Regions from separate parts of the Homo sapiens genome. Here regions 2, 3, 4 and 5 are each linked to region 1. The links are contacts of gene promoters, found by promoter capture Hi-C in blood cells and fetal thymus (Javierre and others, 2016). All regions are on one chromosome and are shown on one strand. The core of a region is centred on a gene start or on the middle of the fragment in contact, and the rest is flanking DNA. Distances in the headings are between cores, read along the strand shown.

Region 1 (2,931 bases), core at 112-2,611:
ACCCGGGGGATCTTTGTTCCCGGAGCTGTTCCCCGCCTCGCTGCTCCCGCCGCAAAACCTGTTTGCGGAATACCCGCCGCAAGTCTGACTTGACGATGTGCAGTTTTGGGGTGCGCCAGTTGTGGGGGCATTCATAGAGGCAGCGAAGGGACCCCTAAGTTTAAACACCCGGGGAAGGATAAAGGAAGAGCGTCGGGCCCCCCTCCTCCCAACAGCGCTCGGGCGCGAACGGCGCCCTCCCGCGCTGCCGGCTCGCGCGGGCTCCGCAGGGCGCGCTGGCGGCGGCGGCGGGGCGGGGCGCGGCAGGCGGGCCCGGGGCCTGCACGTGGTGGCGATCTTTCTTCCCACCCGGCCAGGTCCCCGGGGACCACCGCGCTCAGGGGGAGGAGGAATGCCGTTCCCGGGCCCCGCTCCGGAGAGGGGTTTTACCCTCTGGGATCCCGGAATTGGAGGTGGAGAAGAGAGGAAGCAAGGGAGGGCGCGGCGTGGCGCGAGCGTTTCCTGCGCGGGGACTGCGGGGTGGCAGCTGGAGGCCACTGCAGGGGCAGAGCGGCGGGTTGGGGGAGCGACCGACCCATGGGGAGGGAAACCCGGTAGGGGGAGCAGGGAGCCGGAAAGCAGGGTTGATACATACCTGGGTGGGCGGGCTGGAAATGCCTTCCCTGGGCGCGCCGCGCAAGGCCGGCGGAGCGGGCTCCGGGTGGTCGCGGACCGGGACTGGGGAGAGCAGAGCCGCACTTGGCCAGGCGCGTGGCTGAGTGGTGTTTACATTCTGCAGCCACTCCACGTTGTGCTGCCGCCCGTGCCTCCCATTGGCCAGCTCTTCAGCCAACGCTTTGCTCCTCCCCGAGGGGCGGGCCCTCGGGTCCCCGCGTCGCTCAGGAAAGACCTGGGTTCCCTGAGGCCTTGGCGGGACAGCTAGGGCGCGCCCCTGGACGGTCACTTCCCAGCCACCCTATGGTCGCCCGAGTCGTGTCCCCCTGTTATGCGCCCGGGCTGAGCCGCAGGCTGACACCCCCGAAATCCAGGAGTTGCAGTGGGAGGAAGCAAAAGCAAACTGGCGGGAGATGCGCGAGCCAGGCGGCGGGGAGAACAGCCGCGGAGAAGGAGCCCCTGAGAGTTTCCCTACCGCCGCCGGCCGCGCCGTGGAGCGCGGTGGACGCGGGCAGAAGGCCCGGTAGAGTGGACCCCACGGCCGCTCCGGGTGGCGGGCGCGCACTGAGAGCAGGGCGCGGCGCGCGGGCACGCGGGCGGACGGGCGGGAGAGGGGAGCGCGCTGTCCGGAGGTGTCAGTCTGAGGCGCATGCGTGCGGGGCGGGACCGGCCCGGCCTATATATTGGGTTGGCGCCGGCGCCAGCTGAGCCGAGCGGTAGCTGGTCTGGCGGTGAGGAGTTGCTGCGCGTAGGGGGGATGTGGGAGGAAAGAAAGCCCAGTTGGGCCGATCACTTACCACAGGCGGGAGCCTCAGGGAGGAAAATCGGGAGGGCTGAGAACTAGACGACTGGGGGTCATGGGTTCCCGCGTTCCGTCCCTGTCAGGAACCTTGGCAGGGGACCGGGAAGCGGCTGGGCATGGAGAGCCGCCCCTCATTCTAGGGGCTTCTCTATCCCACCCTCATTTGGGGAGCTATCCCGTGGGAGAGAGGATGGGAGGCCGGGTCCCCTCCATGGGGAGAAAAGTTCCCAGCCAGCCCAGTCTCCCCTTTCTTTAGCTCCTTTTCCTGCCCTCCCCCACGCCCTCCGCTTCCCATCTGGAGTTGGGGTCCCGGCGCCCCTCCGAGCGGCGGTAGGGCGGCAGGGCCGGGAAGGAGGGAAAGGAGACTGGAGGCCGTGACACCAGTCTTGGTTCCTCCGCCCCCTGCTTCCCCGCCACCGCCGCTCTCCAAATTGGCGCGGAACCGGCTTCTCCACAGCATTTCGCCTCCACAACCCCCTCTCCCCGCTGGTCCAGGAGGGAGGCGGGACGTGGGGGCGCTGCCCAAGCCCCACTCCCGGTGTACGGGGGAGAGGGTGGAGGACCCAGAAAAACCCGTTTGAGGAAGATGTGCCTCCCTGCGCGTTCAAGGTGTCAGGAGTGCTTGGTAAATTTTTGGACACTCGCGTTCCAGCTGTACATTCAGTTGAGGAAATGCAGGCTTGTATCCAAAATGAATTACCATGAGCTAGCTAACATAGCACAGAAGATGGCAGGGTCACAGGGCCCAGGCCCCCTTCGGAGGGACTGAGCTTTCACCTGCGAATCAGCGTCTTACTGGCACTTGGAGAATGTGAATGACAATGTACTTGACTGCGGCTTTTCCTCTCCCCCCTTCAGAGGTTTTATACACCTGAAAGAAGAGAATGTCAAGACGAAGGTAACATTATCTGTCTTAGAGACATGTTTCAAATTAGTTGCTGCCTTTAACTTACTAATTACACTTCCTTTTTAAAAATTCACTACAGTAGCCGTTTACAAGCTAAGCAGCAGCCCCAGCCCAGCCAGACGGAATCCCCCCAAGAAGCCCAGATAATCCAGGCCAAGAAGAGGAAAACTACCCAGGTGATTTAAGGAGAAAGAGGGAGGAACGAAATTCCATGCTGGGACTTTAGTTTACCAATGGTCTTTTCTATTTTCCAGGATGTCAAAAAAAGAAGAGAGGAGGTCACCAAGAAACATCAGTATGAAATTAGGGTAATGCAGAACTGGGCTGGGTGGGTTTGGGGGAAAAATGGAGGATAGATGAATAAGAATAGAATTATGTGTTTATTGCTTTGCGATAGATTCCTCTGACACTTTTACTTTTAATGCCCCTAGAGGTCAGCAGGAAGGCGCCTATCTTTGGGTGGTTTCTATGTGCCCGAATCCTACTACAGCTGCAGAATAAGTGCCTTCAAGCAGCTGGTTCCTTTTTGTAAATCCCTCCCTCTTGGAACTGCCTGGTGCACCAGGGC
Region 2 (2,931 bases), core at 152-2,651, 420 kb after region 1:
GATAAAGCCCTTTGACAAGTTGATATGTGAGTAATGATCTGAAGTGAAGGATCAAACCAGATGCAAATCTGCAAGAGGAATGTCCCAGGTCACCTTTAGCCAATCTGTTTTAGATTTTCTGAACTCCCCAGATGATATTAAGGTAGGCTGCAGACACTATGAAGCTAGCTTGTTTTCTGGTTACCCTTACTCTTTATGTGTCCCAGTCCAAAGAAGAGGGGGGTGCGGTTTACTAAGGTGCCCAACCTTGGCAGGTCCCCATTTCAAATTCTTGTAACGCTGGCTCCAGGAGCTGCCAAAAGCACAACTCAACCTATGAGGTGCTCTTTATGACTGGAAAAAGTCCCCAGGATAAAAGCTCCTTAAGCACATTACTCTTTTTTTTTGAAACAGGGTCTCTCTGCTGCCCAGGCTGGAGTGCTGCGGCACCATCTCGGTTCATTGCAGCCTTCACCTCCCAGGTTCAAGCGATTCTCCCGCCTTAGTCTGCTGAGTAGCTGGGATTACAGGCGCGCTCCACCAAAACCAGCTAATTTTTGTATTTTTAGTACAGACCGGGTTTCACCATGTTGGCCAGGCTGGTCTCGAACTCCTGACCTCAAGTGATCCGCCCGCCTCGGCCTCCCAAAGTACTGGGATTACAGGCACAAGCCACCGCTCTCAGCCTCAAATTACTCTTTTAAATGGCTGTACCTATTTACACTCCTACCAGCAGCCCAAGAGTTCCCATTGTTTCACATCTTCATTTCACCCTTGATATTTTTTAGCTTTTACTTTTTGTCAAACTGCTGGATAAAACTCAATAAACAACCTTTAGCCATTCTCTCTCCTTTCAGATTAGCCTTTCTAATACCATTTTTCAGGGATAGTTGACTGTGTTACCGCCTAGCACTTAGAAGGTGCTCAGTAAATACTCATTGAATGATGTAACTTTCCTACTTAACATGCTTTAATGCTTTTCCAAGTCCGGAGGCGGCTCCCCTTTTCTGAGAGCCTAATAATCACGTATTCGTTTCTATATTCCCAGAACCTAACAAAGAGTTTGAAAATTATCCTGCAGGCACCGCTAAGTCAATGTTTTTTCGGATGAATGAATAACCAATAGGATATCGTATACTTCTGCGATGCACGCATTTCTATTATCGCACACACCGAATCATACCGTATTTATTACTTATCCACGCAGATGGTGAGGTCTGTAGCCTCGGCATCTACACTGTGTCTGAAAGTAGGCACTAAACCAGTATTTTTTTAATTGAACCGTAAACTTGAATCAAACTTGGAAGCATTTAAAGCCAAACGCAAAGATACATGCGCAGTGATGCAGTAGGGTCGTCCAATCAGAGTAGGGCAGGACAGGGCAGTGCAGCGGCTAGGTAGTGCGCACGCGCGGCGGGCTCGTCCGCGATTGGCTTCGCCGAGGCGGGATCCTTGAGCTTCTCCGGCGGCGAGGGGATAGCTGGTTACCAGAAGGACTTCTTTGCAGGGCCAGTGGTTTCTGTCAGATTTTCGCCGGTGCGTCCTGCAGGGGGAAGCTCGGGAGGCTGCGACAGCCTGTAGGCTCGTGCGGGACAAAGCAGGGAGTGGCGCCGGAGCAGGCCAACGAGGGAGGAGGGAGGGAAGGCGGCAGGAGCGACCGAAGTGGCCTTCTGCGGGCCTGCAGCTTTGGTCTGAAGTGCCAGGGACGCCCTGGTTGCTGGCCCCGGGGGCCTTGGAGCGAAGGGCGGGCGGTGGGGGTTTAGGGTTGTGCGTTTGTGTGGGAGGGATGGTTCTGGGCAGTGGCCCCTGGGGCCGCCACTGCGGTCGCTTTGCGCAGGCTCCTCTTGGCTTTTGGGTCTCTCCCTCACTCCTGCACTGGGAATTTCCTTCCCCAGGGCCAGGGGGTGAAGGCTCTGCGAGCGTCCTGGAGAGTGTCGGTACGCCTTCTTTAGGGGCTTTTACCTCTTCACTGGTCAGGTTTTTCTTGTATTTCCTTAAAACCTTTTAATCGATTACCTTATGGAAGATTTTCTAGGTAGGAACAGATGCTTCTCGACTTACTACGGGGTTGAAAATATCCCAAATGGAAAATGGATTTAAAACACAGCTAACCTACTGAGTATTAAAGCTTGGCCTAGCCTACTTTTGTTATCAAAAAAATTATTTTCAGCTGTTTATTTTAGATTTGGGGGTACATGTGCAGGTTTGTTGCATCGGTATATTACGTGGTGCTGAGGTTTGGATACGATTGATCCTGTCACCCAGGTAGTGAGCATGTTACCCAATAGTTTTTGAACCCTTGCTCCTCCTTTCCTCTCCCTTCTAGTTGTCTCCACTGTCTATTGTTGCCATCTTTATGTTCATGAATGCCCAATGTTTAGCTCCCATTTATAAGTGAGAACATGCAATATTTGATTTTCTGTTTCTGCTTTAATTCGCTTTGGATAATAGCCTCCAGCTGCACCCATGTTGCTGCAAAGGACATGATTTCATTCCTTTTTATGGCTGCGCTAGCCTACCTTAAACATGCTCAGAACACTTACCTTAATCTACAGTTGGGCAAAATCATGAACACAGACGGTTGTGTGGTTACTTGTACAGTTTCTACTGAATGCTCATGGCTTTCTTAAAAGTCGAAGAATTCTAAGTGACACCGTCCTAAATTAGGAACCATCTATATAGCCGGAGTCTCAAAGGAGCAATTTAAGGCATGAAGTGAAATAATTACTACCTAATGTAGTTGGAAGTCGACAAGCAGCAACAGCAGGGAGAGACCGTTGCTGGTTCTTGGTAGAGTTGGTGTACTTACATTCTTGCATCCTCGACGTTTGATGGTTGCACATACCTCTCTTTAAAGCCCAGACGAACCCAAAGATTCTGGTCATTGTCCTGTATGTTGAACTACCCCTTCTCTATCTCCTTCACAGGACCTTCATCATTTCTACTCTCCGA
Region 3 (2,931 bases), core at 277-2,776, 410 kb before region 1:
TCAGGATTTGGAAGGGAGTGACCGAAAACATTGTTCTTCCAGTGGGAGCCCACCATGCACCTCCTGACAATATTAAAGAAATATAGAATTCATCAGGAAGACAGAAGTTAGGAGGTAGTTGGGATTTTCTCTGAAGAGAGTTATGGGTGTCCAAGAGTCCCCAAGGACAAGGAGAAGGTGGTGCTTCCCCCTCCTAATGCCAAGAGGGCTCTTCAAGAGGGCAACTTGGAGAGTTTTCTGTTTGTTCCCTGGAGATTGTGGACTAAAACCTGACTCGTCCCTCTAGTGTTGAAGATGAAAAGCTGGCTGGAATGGCTACCCGGTAGCAAAGAGGCAGAATGAAGGGAACAGCCAGGCTTTCCAGCGTTGAGTGGGAAACAGACATCCACAGAGTTCTCACTAGGCAACTGGAAACCCCATGGAAGAGAACCAGACTCTGGTTATCTTAAATGGATCCCCTGGAGGGATAAGGTGACCCCAACAGAGAGACAGACTGCCAGGAGCCAGGGGCTGAGGGGAGAGCCACAGATGTCCAACTGCAGGAGTAACTGCCCACATTAAGCGAATTGCATGTAGAAAAATGCTAAGACCAGAGTCCCTGAAAACTCACTGCAAACTCCCTCTGCCCACCAAGAGTAAGCACTAACACTGCATCATCCAAGCCGCCTCAGTGGCAGGTTACTACTGTCCTGCCAAACAGGACTTTCCCAGCCCCTTCACCTTCCCTTTCACCTCCACCTCCATCCAGGGCAGCAGAGTGAGTGGTGCAGAAGTAGAACAAGTTAGGGAAAGAGGCCCCAGCCATGCCTTTCCCCAGTTCCACATAGGCTTCAGCCCAGAGAGCCTGCGCTGAGGAAAAGGAAAAGCTTGGCTTCACCCGAACTTTGCAACCACGGTGATTATTCATTTATTTATCATTAAAAGAGAAAGAGAAACCTAGGCTCAGATCCCAGAATACCACTGCAGTTTGGTAATGATGCTGGAATACATTTTGTGTATGCCTATAGGTGGATCAAAAAACAAAAGACAAACTCCTGAGACCCCATGAGACATCCAATTTAATCTTCTAGGAAATAGGACTTTGGAAGCATAACGACTAATATTTAAATGGCACTCTACAAACCACATTCGCATACATTAGTAGTACATTTAATTCCCATAATAATCCCCATTTCAAAGATGAGAGAAATCAAGGTTCAGAGAACTAACTTGCCCCAGGATCAAGCACACTAGTGAGGGAATTTGAACCTAACCTATCTGACTTCAGGCTACTGACTCTGAAAACCATTTGTAAAACTCAGTCTGTAGTTTTGTGGGAAATTTCTGAAAATTTCAATGGATAAAAAGTGTTAATGCCCCCCACCATGCCCCACAAAAATTCATGTATTGAAATCCTCAACCCCAAGGTGATGGTATTAGGAGGTGGATCTTTGAAAGGTGATGGTATTAGGAGGTGGATCTTTGAAAGGTGATTAGGTCCCTTATAATGGGATTATTGCCTTTATAAAAGAGTCCTAAGTGAGATCTCTTGTCCCTCCTGCCATGTGGAGTTACAGCAAGACCATCCATCCATGAACCAGGAAATGGGCCTCCACCAGACACCAAATCTGCCACTGCATTGATCTTGGACTTCTCAGTTTCCTGAGAAATAAGAAATTTCTGTCGTTTCTAAGCCACCCAGTCTATAGTAGTTTGTTACAGCAGCCTGAATAAACTAAGACACAAAGAATCTCATGTTTTATTTCCTAGCTACTAATCCATAAATGTAACCTACTGGTTAACTATTAGATGCCTAACCCACCAGCCAATAAATACCCCTTTAAAACTAGCCTAAAAATATTGATTTTCTTGTGCTTTCTTGAATACCCTAAAACACATTTTTCCTTGAGAAGCGGTCAGCTTCAACTATCTAAAGAGAACTAGAAGATCCCTTTTACCTGGTCAAGCTCTTGACCTCTAATCCTGCCCATCCAGTCTCTCGATAATTTCACTGCACAGGCATATGTGACATCCTGTGTGCCGCCTTTGTCCATAACCCACAACCCACAGTAGGCTGCGGTGGTTCCTCAAAGCTGAGACAGGGTACTTTCATTCTAACAAATCCCAGCACGTGCTCCCCTAACATGTCTGTTTTACTAATTTTACATTATATACAATTTTTCATTTTAACCTAAAACAAAGCTTTCAGTTTTTCTCAAATAGCATGGCAGGTTTCATTAAATCAGATTATTGCCCAGTTCCCCCTTCTCTTTCATCAAAAGAAGGGAAGATAGAAGCAGAAGAAAAGTAGAAACAGTCCAAGGCAGTAATATAGCAAAGTGAAAAAATGTAAAGGAAGTTTAACTCTCATCCCTCCTCCTAGAGATCCAAGGTCTCAGAGACAGAACAGCAGCTTTTCTTTTTGCACCTCACACATTGAGAGAGACTAGACTTCACTTCCTGGCAGCCCTTTCCATTCCCATTTCACAGCAACGGCTGTAGACACAGCATTTCTATCTTAGTTACACCAACCTTTTGAGTTCTGAGCAGAGCACTAAAGACTCACGATGTGTTTAAGGCCAAGGTCGCTTGGGGACCAAGATAGAGAACCCAGAAACATGTTTGGAACTTCAAAAATGCTGGGGAGGTTGGGAGGCCTAGGAAGTGGGGGTGCAGGATTCACTGCAGTTGCCTCCATCCCCACCCTTCCACCACTAGCCTTAGATAAGCAGACAAGGGTTCCAGTCCTGGCTTTGCCTGGGACCTTGGAATAGCTCTGGCCCGAGATAAGCCTGAGAAGGGCTAGAGTTTGGAATGGTGGGTTTGTCTGCTTCATAGGAGTCCTTAAACCTGGGCCCAGGCATTTTCCTCCTGTCGGCCCCCAAGAGCAAACCCCAAACGAGCTGACTTCCTAGTGCATTGTAAGCACACCTGAGAGAAATCACAAGCATA
Region 4 (2,931 bases), core at 131-2,630, 350 kb before region 1:
TAGCTACATCAGAGTACTCAAGGCTCCCATTCCCTCTGACTTTGTACAACCTCTTTACCTCTTGGGATGCCTTCCCACCATTTTATCTACCTAAACCCTACCTGTCCTTCAGAGTATAATTCATCACATGTCTTCCATGATTCTTTCACCACTCTCTCAACTGGAAGAAAACTCTTCCCTTCCTGTGTATTCACGGTGCTTTGGACCTATTATATACTGTAATATAAAACTGAAGCTCTTAGGTTGGTGTATGACTACCTCCCTCCTTGTGGCTGAGATAATGTCTTGCTCATATTTATATAATTTGTACATTCTTATACACTTACAGAATACCTACTATCTTTAAGGTGTTACAAGTTATAAAAATATATTTGAACTTTACATTGACATTTTCAAATAAAAATTTAAAGCTAAAAATTAATACAGTGTAATATTGCAGCACTTTTCAATAGCATAAAGAAAAGGGTAAGAGACTTTCCCCTACGCCTTTTTTGGCAGCCATTCTTGGGTAAATCTATGAGTATACCCTAATTTAATAGTTTTTAAACTTTTTCACATCAAGAACCACTTTGCAAATCTTATGAAAGCTTTGAATGCCCCTCATACACATACAATTCAAATATAAAAATACATGGAAAAATTATAACTTGAAAAATTTTACAGTTTCCAACCCAAATAAAGCCTAATGTACTCCCAAAATCTGAGGTTAGGAACCCATACTTTTAGGCTTAGCCCACTTTTTACCCCATAAGTGGAAAAGTTGGCTTTTAATTACAGGTTGACTTTCCCTTTTCTGACTTTTCTAAACCCTCTGCTATTTACTGTCTACTAGTTAATCTAATAAGTGGTTAATAATCCCCATATGTCACCAAGATGAAGCATGAATTTTTATAAAACTATCATAGGATAATAAAATGCATGTAACATCAAGGCAGTGGTGAACACAGGCATAAAGTAAACTATGGATAACCTAGTCGGTACTTGAGGAACTTGCAGCATCTCAGAGTTATCAAGAACACCAGTTGGTTTACCCTAGATCTGTGGCAGCCTGGTTTAAAAAATATATGTACTTTTAGATAAAACAGTGACAACTAGAGGATTTATTATACTATTAAAAATAAACAAGTAGTCATTATTTAAATCAGTAGAAAATACTGTCTCAGTTCTCAAGACACTTAGGAATATGTTTGGGAGATAAGAGAATGGAACAGCTAAAGAATAAGGCGGTCTCCACCATTAGGATATAAATCACTGATAGATTTATTTTGTACAATATATTGGTGTTTACCAGTAGACATTATTCAGCACCTAGTCTATGACACTCTTAGATACTGGGCTCATAAGATGAGAGGAACCCAGGGGAAGGGAGACATGGGTGGGGACAAGCATGTGAGCAGCAAGGTCATAGAGACAATAGGGTCAAGAGCACTGATGGGAGGTGAGCCTTGGATAGGAAAAGGAAGACCTCTGTGACTGAGAGGAAGCCAGCAAGGTACTGATGTGTTCAGGGTGAGCTTGCCAGGAAATTGAAGGCTTTCATACCTGGCGACCTGGTTTTGAGAATGAAGATGTGATCTGCTGAAAATAAGGGAGTGGAGGAGGATGTGGAATAATCACTGAGGAAACCAGAAGTGGACAGTGACCAAAGACAAGTTAAATGTTACACAGTGGAATGCTGTGCAGTTGTTTTATTGTCCTATTTTACAGATGAGAGAAATAAATGTATCCTATCTTTGAGAAGTTTTAGAACTTTTTTTTTTTTTCTGAGCCAATCTTGCAAACCCTGTTACCCAGGCTAGAGTGCAGGACTGCAGTTTCAGCTCACTGCAACCTCCACTTCCCAGATTGAAAGGATCCTTCGGCCTCAGCCTCTCGAGCAGCTAGGAATACAGGTGCGCACTACCACATCCAGCTAATTTTGTAGAGATGGGGTCTCACCATGTTGCCCATGCTGGTCTCGAACTCCTGAGCTCAAGTGGTCCACCCACCTTGGCTCCCCAAAGTGCAGGGATTACAGGCATGACCCACCACACCCAGACAAGTTTTAGAACATTGTAAAAGAAGTGTCAGCTATACTTACTGACCACCTTGCCACAACAGCTGAAGAAAATGCTTTTATTTTTCTATTAAATCGTGTTTTCTTTAAGAATGGAATGATTTTTCCCTAAGCTTTTAAGATACGTGCATTTTAAAAACCATTTCAAATGTCATAATTAGATCCCTGCCTATTCATGATTCCTAATCCTAAAATCGCTAAGGATTCAGTCAAGTATCAAATGTTAAGTTTTCAAAATATTTTGCAGATCAAATAAAGGACATTTTTCCTCAACAACTTAGTTTTGGCGGGGTTTTTTTCTTTCTGTTAAAATTTAGATTATTCATTTCTTCCCTTAGCTAAGTCGTTTAGCTAGTCAGTCTGTTTCCTGAAGTCAGACAGTTGGCTTGGAAAATCTGTCAGGTTTTGTGAGGTTCTAACCTTCTAAATTGTGCCTGAATTTCGTACAGTTTAATACTGAATATGGTGCCCATTGACCACCAGAGGGCACTTTGTAGCCTGCCTTCTGTTGCAGTGATATCCACAAGCAATGGTTAGGTACCGTATCTCTTTTTCTGGTATTCATACTGTATTTCGTCCTTTCACTTTGTATTTTTTCATCTTTTTTAAAAATTTTTTCTACTTTTCTTTGCCATGGAATGTTTATATGAACTCATTACATGGATTATCATGAAATCATAATTGATGTTTTTATTAATTAAACTTCTGTAGTCTTTTTTATAATAGTATGAAATCCAGTGTTTATCATTTTTACGATGGCCCTACTTGTTGATTTAATTATTTCAACATTATTAATATTTATTTCAGGATAGACATTTTTGTTGCTGATAGTATGAATAAACAGATCATTGAAGCTAATGAAAATTTTCTATAGT
Region 5 (2,931 bases), core at 321-2,820, 340 kb after region 1:
ATGTGGAGAGGAGATTTACTTTAGAAATTCATTTATTATTAAATATTTCAGACATACCAGAAGGTACAAACAATAATATAAGGCATGCTTGTGAAATTAACATTAACCTAAATAACAAAACATTACCAAGGCATGTGAAGCCTTTCTGTTCTTCTCCATTACATCTCCTTCCAGTTTACCACTATCTTGAAATTTTAGTTACTCCAATACATGACTTTATAATTTCATGACATATGTACACTCCTAAAATTTTATATTCTTTTGCACGTTTTTAAATATATAGATGTTATTTTACACTATATATTTTTTATTTCCTTTTCTAAGAGATGGGTGTCCCCACTGGCCTCCAACTCCTGGGCTTAAGAGATTCTCCTGTCTCAGCTTCCCGAGAAGTTGGGACCACAGGAACACGCCACCGCACCCGGCTTGCGATGAGAGGAGTTAAACTTGTTTTGTTTTGGTTTGTGTCTTTTTTTTTTCTTTTTGTGAATAACGGGGTCTCGCTATATTGCCCAGGCAGTTCTCCAACTCCTGGGCTCAAGCGATCCTCCCGCTTCATCCTCCCTAAGTGCTGGATTACAGGCGTGAGCCAAAGCGCCCACCAACCCTGTTTTTTGGGTTTTTCATGCTAGTAAACATAGCACTGGTTCATTCTTCGTACCTGCTATATACTATTATATAAATACGCCACTATTTACTTATTACTTCTGTCAATGGCACTTATGTTTCCTGCTCTTTTGCAACTTATAAAGTTTGCTATGAATATTCTTGTATTTGTAGATACGTGGGCGAGAATTTTCCTAGAAGAGTGGTAGGCACGTGTAATTTTACAAGCTATTTCCTAGTTGCTCTGCTAAGGGTTTGTGCCATTTAGACTACCAAACCCGCTGAGTTTATCTCGTTGCTCCAAAGCTCATCAACACCCGACAGAGAGGCTTACTTTTCATTCTGCCTCCTGTTTTATTGTTCATGGTACTTCACGTTACACAATTCCTCGAATTTTATTTCAATTACTCCTCACAATCACCCTGTAGGTTAGGTACGATTTTTCACATTTTACAGATAAGAAAACAAAGAATCTCTTCGTTGGTTGAAACAACAGTTTTTCTTCTATTTAAATCAATGTCTTACTTTTCAACCTCGCTCACTGTTATCTTTTTGCTCCCAGCGCTGGAAAAAGTGGGACATCCCCTTCGGTGGGTGTACGGGGTTGGTATCCAAAGTTGGCAGCTTTCCCTCCCCCTCCTCCATCCACCGTCTCCAAAACCCCGTCTCCGCACTTCGCCACCCGGAGACCGCTGTAGCTCTGTAACGCGGAGGAACGACAGGGTTTGAACCACTGGAGACCCCGTAGTCCCCATCTCACTTCCCTCTGCCCCCCCTCTGCGTTCTAGGGGGCGCCCTCCGCCGCGCTGGAAAAGGCGGGGCCGGCAACTCCGGGCAACAAGATGCGTTGGGATAGGCCGAGGTTTGCGGCGCTAGTGCTCTGGTCACCGGAAGTCCCTCTGTTTCTCCCTCTCCTGAGTCGCTGTCGCGGAGGCTGGAGCGCTGCCCCGGAAGTCCTCCCCCCTGTTCCCCGCCCGCGGCAAACATGGCGGTGGACTCGGCGATGGAGCTGTTATTTTTAGATACTTTTAAACACCCGAGCGCTGAGGTAAGGCTTGGCGACTTGATTCTGACGCTGCTTCTTGACTTGGGATCTTTACAAAAAAACCGTTAGGCGTTCTCCACTTTTCCTTCTGCAGATTGCTTCTTTAATTTCTCGCTTACACACAGACACCCTCCCCCGAGCTGTGTGAGCATCGCGTCTGAGGGAGGGCTGCAGCAGCCCCTTCATTTCCTTGCTTTAACTTGGGCCCTCCGTGTCTTTGGTCGAGTTGGCTTTTCTGCTTGCATGGCTTTATTTTTTATTTTTCCTGTCAGGTTTGGGCCTTGAGAAGGATCAGGGTTCTCAGGTTTACCTCAGATGGCGTTTGGGAGGGGTCTTGGTTTGCCAGTAGTGTTTGACAGTAGTGCCGGAGTCTGAGCAGTTTACGTTGGCTTCGTGGTTTCCGAATCACGATGTTTCTAAATCCTTTCTCTTTGGCCTCTTTTCTGTCGGGAATTATGTTCCCCAGTTGTGACACTTACTTGGTTTAGGATTACGGTGCTCTCCGATTTGGCCTGAAACTTTAATACTTGTCTCTCGGAGAGATTTCACACATTAGGAATGAGATGCATTCACGGAGAATACTTGCGAAGAGGGGAGAGTTGAGAGAATTATAGTTAAACTCATCAGCAGACATCTCCTTTGAGGTTGGAGGTGGAATGTTGTGGAGTAATATTTCTGTACAAAACTACTTGAGCGCCCCTTAATGTACAATTGGCCCTGCAATATGTAGATTAAACATAGCTGGTTAACTAAAGATTCCTGAAAGCAGACCAAAAATGAACTTGAATGAAGTCTACGGAGAAATTGTTAAAAAAAAAAACGAACTTCACATTTTTCTGTCTTAATGTAAGCTTAATTTAGAGAACTGTTCTTTCTTTGGAGATTATTTTTTTCCTTTTATTTTTATCAAGTGTGCTCTTGTATCAAGCTTTTTGAGGACAGATATAATTTCTCTTTTTCTCAGCTGTATCTCCAGTGCCTAGGACAGTATTAGCAAAATGTAGGTGCTCAATAAATATTTGAATGGAAAATGTTTAAAATGTTCTTTCTTTTATGAGATAGTAATGATAGTGGGTAGTGATTGTATCATAATGCTTTACTTGGCAAAATAAAAAGTTGACAGCTGTGATCTAATTTAACGAATGGTTTATAGGTTTGTAAAAGTCAAAAGTTGGAGAACTTTGAGTTAGCATTTCTTACTGACAGTTAATTTATGGTCTGACATTTAATGTGGGTCAGTTAGCACTGTTTGTTCAATGACTATATCTAACATTCTAGCC

What was found. Contacts are between HindIII fragments. The CHiCAGO score rates a contact against its expected background, and 5 or more counts as called.
Region 2: the fragment with the promoter of RAD54B here is called in contact with the fragment with the promoter of CCNE2 in region 1 in 14 of 17 cell types (fetal thymus, naive CD8 T cells, total CD8 T cells and 11 more); the score reaches 20.8 in fetal thymus.
Region 3: a fragment that was not itself captured here is called in contact with the fragment with the promoter of CCNE2 in region 1 in 1 of 17 cell types (total B cells); the score reaches 7.1 in total B cells.
Region 4: a contact is called between a fragment that was not itself captured here and the fragment with the promoter of CCNE2 in region 1, in 7 of 17 cell types (fetal thymus, total B cells, total CD8 T cells and 4 more). The highest score is 9.2, in fetal thymus.
Region 5: a contact is called between the fragment with the promoter of VIRMA here and the fragment with the promoter of CCNE2 in region 1, in 12 of 17 cell types (fetal thymus, neutrophils, monocytes and 9 more). The highest score is 14.7, in fetal thymus.

What each region holds. Positions count from the first base shown.
Region 1 is chr8:94,893,631-94,896,561 of GRCh38, reverse strand. It overlaps CCNE2 (cyclin E2), which reads left to right and starts at 1,361. Exons shown (of 12, transcript NM_057749.3): 1 at 1,361-1,385; 2 at 2,315-2,354; 3 at 2,443-2,539; 4 at 2,618-2,671. The coding sequence starts at 2,341. It also overlaps a transcript of NDUFAF6 not described here. RefSeq lists silencers at 272-321, 492-541, 672-771, 1,152-1,371 and an enhancer at 1,988-2,549. The HindIII fragment of the contact is 5,265 bases long and covers 1-2,931 here.
Region 2 is chr8:94,473,585-94,476,515 of GRCh38, reverse strand. RAD54B (RAD54 homolog B) reads left to right here and starts at 1,401. Exons shown (of 15, transcript NM_012415.3): 1 at 1,401-1,515. RefSeq lists an enhancer at 1,439-1,668. The HindIII fragment of the contact is 4,488 bases long and covers 1-2,109 here.
Region 3 is chr8:95,301,853-95,304,783 of GRCh38, reverse strand. The region is part of intron 1 of CFAP418-AS1 (CFAP418 antisense RNA 1); the gene reads right to left. Among named protein-coding and RNA genes, the nearest start is that of TRS-AGA2-5, 34 kb to the right of the region's middle. The HindIII fragment of the contact is 1,315 bases long and covers 869-2,183 here.
Region 4 is chr8:95,248,489-95,251,419 of GRCh38, reverse strand. All of the region lies in intron 5 of CFAP418 (cilia and flagella associated protein 418), which reads left to right. Among named protein-coding and RNA genes, the nearest start is that of CFAP418-AS1, 19 kb to the left of the region's middle. The HindIII fragment of the contact is 1,582 bases long and covers 590-2,171 here.
Region 5 is chr8:94,552,108-94,555,038 of GRCh38, reverse strand. VIRMA (vir like m6A methyltransferase associated) reads left to right here and starts at 1,570. Exons shown (of 24, transcript NM_015496.5): 1 at 1,570-1,654. The coding sequence starts at 1,592. It overlaps VIRMA-DT (VIRMA divergent transcript), which reads right to left and starts at 1,326. Exons shown (of 2, transcript NR_183271.1): 1 at 1,132-1,326. RefSeq lists an enhancer at 1,257-1,876. The HindIII fragment of the contact is 4,366 bases long and covers 1-2,504 here.